Regions from separate parts of the Homo sapiens genome. Here region 1 is linked to region 2. The links are contacts of gene promoters, found by promoter capture Hi-C in blood cells and fetal thymus (Javierre and others, 2016). All regions are on one chromosome and are shown on one strand. Each heading gives the region's core, a stretch centred on a gene start or on the middle of the fragment in contact. The rest is flanking DNA. Distances are from core to core; before and after follow the strand shown. Region 1 overlaps UBE2D4 (ubiquitin conjugating enzyme E2 D4). Region 2 holds the start of H2AZ2 (H2A.Z variant histone 2).

Region 1 (2,700 bases), core at 80-2,579, 920 kb after region 2:
GTGGGAAGTGATTGGTTTAGTACAATCCACTTGGTATTATCCTCTTCTCACAAGATCTGGTTGTTTCAAAGTATGTCATGGGCCAGGCACAGTGGCTCACTTTGTGCCTGTAATCCCAGCACTTTGGGAGGCCAAGGCGGGTGGATCACGAGGTCAGGAGATCGAGACCATCCTGGCTAACATGGTGAAACCCCGTCTCTCCTAAAAATACAAAAAATTAGCTGGGTGTGGTGGCAGGCGCCTGTAGTCCCAGCTACTCAGGGAGGTTGAGGCTGGAGAATGGTGTGAACCTGGGAGGCAGAGCTTGCAGTGAGCCGAGATCGTGCCACTGCACTCCAGCCTGGGCGACAGAGCAAGACTCTGTCTCAAAAAAAAAAGTGTGTCATGGCCAGGCACAGTGGCTCATGCCTGTAATCCCAGCACTTTGGGAGGCCCAAGTGGGTGGATCGCTTGAGCTCAGGAGTTCAAGACCAGCCTGGCAACATGGCAAAACCCCGTCTCTACTAAAAATACAAAAAAAAGTAGCCAGGCATGGTGGCACACACTACTCCAGAGGCTGACACAGGAGAATCAGTTGAACCAGAGAGACGGAGGCTGCAGTGATCAGAAATTGCACCACTGCACTCCAGCCTGGGTGACAGAGACCCTGTCTCAAAAATAAATAAATAAATAAATAAAAGTGTGGAGCACCTCCCCTTGTTCTCTCTCTTGCTCCTGTTCTGGCCATGTGACATGCCTGCTCTGCCACCCCCCCCGCCCCCCCACCCCGGTTTGCCTTCCACAGTGAGTGTGAGTTTCCCCTCCTCTGAAGCAGAGCAGACACTAGTGCCATACTTCCTGTACAGCCTGCGGAACTGTGAGCCAATTAAAACTCTTCTTCCTAAATTACCTCATCTCAGGTTTTCTGTTTTGTTTGTTTGTTTGTTTTTTAAGATACGGTCTTACTCTGTCACCCAGGTTGGAGTGCAGTGGCACGATATCGGCTCACTGCAACCTCCACCTCTGTCTGGCTCAAGCGATCCTTCCACCTCAGCCACCTGAGTAGCTGGGACCATAGGCACATGCCAAGAACCATGCCTGTCTAATTTTTTCTATTTTTGGTAGAGCTGGGGTTTTGCCATGTTGCCCAGGCTGGTCTTGAACTCCTGAGCTCAGGCCATCCACCTGCCTTAGCCTCCCAAAGTGCTAGGATTACAGGCATGGGCCACCTCATCCAGCCTTCAGGTATTTCTTTTTTTCTTTTTTTTTTTTTTGAGACAGAGTCTCACTCTATCACCCAGGCTGGAGTGTAGTGGCATGATCGCTCACTGAAACCTCTGCCTCCCGGGTTCAAGCAAGTCTCCTGCCTCAGCCTTCCAAGTAGCCAGGATTACAGGCACATGCCACCATACCCAGCTAATTTTTGTATTTTTAGTGGATATGGGGTTTCACCATGTTGACCAGGACCTAACCTCAGATGATCTGCCCGCCTCAGCCTCCCAAAATGCTGGGATTACAGACATGAGCCACTGTGCCTGGCCAGGTATTTCCTAACAGCAATGCAAGAATGGACTAATACACGTATCAAAGAGAAAAAAAACCATTAAAAAATTGAAATGCTGCCACATATAACCCTGTCCTGGTTGAGAACAGTGGCTCACACCTGTAATCCCAGCACTTTAGGAGGCTGAGGTGGGAGGATTACATGAGCCTAGGAGTTTGAGACCAGCCTGGGCAACATGGTGAAATCCACTCTCTACAAAAAATTTTAAATTAGCCAGATGTGGTGGCAGGCACCTGTAATCCCAGCTACTGGGAAAGCTAAGTGGGAGGACTGCTTGAGCCCAGGAGGTCAAGGCTGCAGTGAGCTATGATTGAGCCACTGCACTACAGCCTAGGTAACAGAGCAAGACCCTGTCTCAAAAAACTAACTAACTAACTAACTAACTAAAAAGTGCATCTAAAAATATTCAATTTGAAACATTCATTTGAAAACATTTTTTTAAAGGGTTGAAGTTGGTTAGAAAGGGCTGTGGATTGGAAACTAAGGGGGCAGCTAGTAGACACCACACACCTGGCTCAGGCTTGCATACTGCTGGCTACCTGCTCAGCACCCATCCGCCTTCCTCCTTTCTGAAGGACTGCTGTTCAGTTCTGGTCAACTCACTGTCAGCTCCAGGTCTAAGAGTAACCAGACTCCTTGCCACTCATTGGTTTCGGAATGAGCATGAGACATAATTCATAACAAGGCAAAGGGAAAAAAAGATCTGCTGGGCTTTCTGAGAATATTCTTATCAGTTCTTCTGGAAGCAGTTGTCTCTATTACTCCCAGATGTCCAGCAGGCTGTGTGTTCCAGAGCCATTCAGCCCAGAGTGACACAGGAACAGACCAGGAGAGGGGGACTGAGTTGCTCCCAAAGTCCTGCCACAGGACCTCCAATTCCATGCACAAGGGCAGCTCAGCCTCTGTCACTTGCAGCCAAGACATCCTAACTAGTGGTGGCCCAATGGTGCCATCTCACCACGGCAGGCTTGACACACTTTTAAAGTTGTATTTCCTACAATTCTGTTGTTTTTCCCCAGGAATTGCTACAGAATTTGCAGGGCCTTGTGAATGTGAAAATGTAGGGTCTCAAGTTCGATAATTATTAAGAATTTCCTGATAGTGACAGCAGAGCATAAAACCAAAGGCAGAGCCCATCCAAGCCTGGGGCCCTGTGA
Region 2 (2,700 bases), core at 65-2,564:
AACAGTCTGAGCTCTGTGAGGTCTGCAAAATGTATTAGGCCTAGAGGGACATGAGTATGGGACTTCGGTTATGCCCACCCTCTGCCCCCACATACACACATACCCAATCCCATGCATACCCAATTGTTTAAAGTCATTTCATTCCTGACTATCGGCCTCATCCATTACCTTTTTTTTTATTATTATTTTTTAGACAGGGTATATTCTGTCTCCCAAGCTGGAGTGCAGTGGTGCGATCATGACTCACTGCAGCCTCGACCTCCTGGGCTCAAGAGATCCTCCTGTCTCAGTCTTGACAGTAGGTGAGGCTACAGGTTCGCGCCACCAAGCCGGCCCCATTATCTTCGTGTTCTTAGAATTTGTAATACATGCCGGGCGCGGTGGCTCACGCCTGTAATCCCAGTACTTTGGGAGGCAAAGGGGGGCAGATCACCTGAGGTCAGGAGTTCGAGACCAGCCTGACCAACACGGAGAAACCCCGTCTCTATTAAAAATACAAAAGTTAGCTGGGCATTGGGGCGCGCGCCTGTAGTCCCAGGACTCCATCTCTAAAAAAGGAAAAAGAATTTGTCATACAAATAACAATATGTAGCCAATTGATAGCTTTTGTTTTTGTTTGTTTGTTTTGAGACGATGCGTCGCCCAGCTGGAGTGCAGTGGCGCGATCTCGGCTCACTGCAACCTCCGCCTCCGGGGTTCAAGCGATTCTCCCGCCTCAGCCTGCCGCGGACCTTGTCAGGGTCCGCGCTGAGAGGACGTCAGGGTAGTCAGTCCGCCAGAATACGGCTGAGCATGAGGCCTGCCTAACCTTGAAACCCAGCGCCCTCCTGATCCACACGTTCTAAGACGAATAAATCCTCACAGTCTGTGAAAACCCACCAGGAGAAGCACGTCCAACACTCTTTACCTCCCCAAACAAGTCTCAGAAGCGGGAAAACCAACGCCGCGAATGGGCGGGAAAGCCACAGCGCCTGCAATCGCTTCACCTTATTAGCTAATTTTGCTGTCCTTCCCAGTGGCCCGCCTCCCTTGCTCGCGGGCGATATTTTTATTGGCTTTCGTCTGCGAGGCGTCCAATCTCATTGGTTTGCCTTTCTGTTCGTCAGGCTTGGGCGCCTGGTGAAAGGCAGAGAGCGCGTCACTATTGGGGCTGGAGGCCCCGCCTCCGCGTGCCGTGTGCAAAAACAAACAGCCGTTAGGAAGGCGGTGCCGGGGGGGCGGGGTCTGGCTAGAAGGAGGCGCGCGATTGAACAGCCGCTGGGGTTCGAACCAGCAAGACAAGCGGGCATTGGCCACAGCAGCGCGAGGCGGGCACGGGGTATTGTCCGGCTCCGGCGGCGGCGGTCGGTGCTGCGAGAGCGGCGGCGGCGGCGCGGGTCGGCAGCGGGAGGGCGCGCGGCCGAGCGGAGGCGGAGTCGGCGCCGAGAACATGGTAAGGGCGGCCGGGTGGGCCGGGGGCACGGGGCCTGGGAGAGCAGAGCGCGGAGGCCCTGGCGTCGGCGCCGCTACCTGTGGAGTCGGGAGTTTGCGGGTGTCTGGGCTTCGTCCGGCCGAGCCCCTCGCCGCCCGCCGGGGGGCGCCATGTCCCAGCTGCGGAGCCCGACACGGGTCCCCGGGTGAGAGCTGGGCCTGGCCGGGTAGAGCGCGAAGTCTGTTCCGAGCCGGATAGATCTGTCCCGACGCTTGTGACGCTGCACCGCCCGTCTTAGAAGGAGGAGGACGGCAGAATCCGGCTTGGAAATGTAGAAACAAGTGCTGGATCTTAATGTGATCGCTTCTCTGTATGAATGAGGTCAAACAGGCTGCCGCTGTACAAGTTAGATAAGTCTTTGGCGATGTTTGGTTACGTAATCTCCCTGGCAGTCAGTTTGAGGGTTTCTGCGAAAGGGTGCTTGTATTTGTGGTCTTTTGAGCGACAAAGAATGGTTTTATAGACCAGAACCACACGATTTGTTCTAGGTGATTGCACAGGTTAGAAATGAACGCCCGTTATCTTCTGAGCCCCTTGCAGTTTGCGGTTTTCATTATACAACAGTACTTTCCTTTGCCCTTGCTATGGATTTTCAGTCTTAAAGTATTCATCTTTTCATTCTGAAATTCAGATCTAGATAAGAAGAGTGTGGCTTTAAAAAAATGAAAGTGAATAGAACTTCAGCCCCATTTTAAAGTTGAGGGGAAAAGAGAAGGTGCTAAAGGATACGCTCTGAGTTGCATCAAAGATTGTGTAAAAATAATAAGACTGTTATGGAATCTTATTTTTGCCGGTATTCGTGCTTTAAGCATTCTGTTGAAAGGTTACTTCAACGGGAGCTACCTGCTTAAAAGTTAGCACCAAGCTGTCATTTATCATACTGCAGATAGTATTAGATGATTTGTCTTGTGCTTGATGTGACAGATATGGTATTGAATAGACATAACACCTAACTGTAAACAGATTGGCCAGTCGAGAGGACAATGTTTGGTTATTGTAAAATACCCAAATCTTAGAGCTGGAATAGACTTTAGGGATAATTGCTTCCAACGTCTAACGTATAGTTTATTGTTATTGTAAAAAACCCAAATCTTAGAGCTGGAATAGACTTTAGGGATAATTGCTTCCAACGTCTCACGTATAGTTTATTGTTATTGTAAAGTACTTTATAGTACTTTATCAAACTGAGGTACAGCTTACATCTAATCTGTAAAAGGATTTGCTCAAAC

Evidence for each region. Contacts are between HindIII fragments. The CHiCAGO score rates a contact against its expected background, and 5 or more counts as called.
Region 1: a contact is called between a fragment that was not itself captured here and the fragment with the promoter of H2AZ2 in region 2, in 1 of 17 cell types (activated CD4 T cells). The highest score is 5.5, in activated CD4 T cells.

The regions. Positions count from the first base shown.
Region 1 is chr7:43,929,674-43,932,373 of GRCh38, reverse strand. The region is part of intron 1 of UBE2D4 (ubiquitin conjugating enzyme E2 D4); the gene reads right to left. Among named protein-coding and RNA genes, the nearest start is that of UBE2D4, 4.6 kb to the right of the region's middle. The HindIII fragment of the contact is 5,962 bases long and covers 1-2,700 here.
Region 2 is chr7:44,846,701-44,849,400 of GRCh38, reverse strand. H2AZ2 (H2A.Z variant histone 2) reads left to right here and starts at 1,314. Exons shown (of 5, transcript NM_012412.5): 1 at 1,314-1,432. The coding sequence starts at 1,430. H2AZ2-DT (H2AZ2 divergent transcript) reads right to left here and starts at 930. Exons shown (of 2, transcript NR_187581.1): 1 at 880-930. RefSeq lists silencers at 979-1,038, 1,299-1,688 and enhancers at 615-1,173, 1,174-1,731. The HindIII fragment of the contact is 6,622 bases long and covers 1-2,700 here.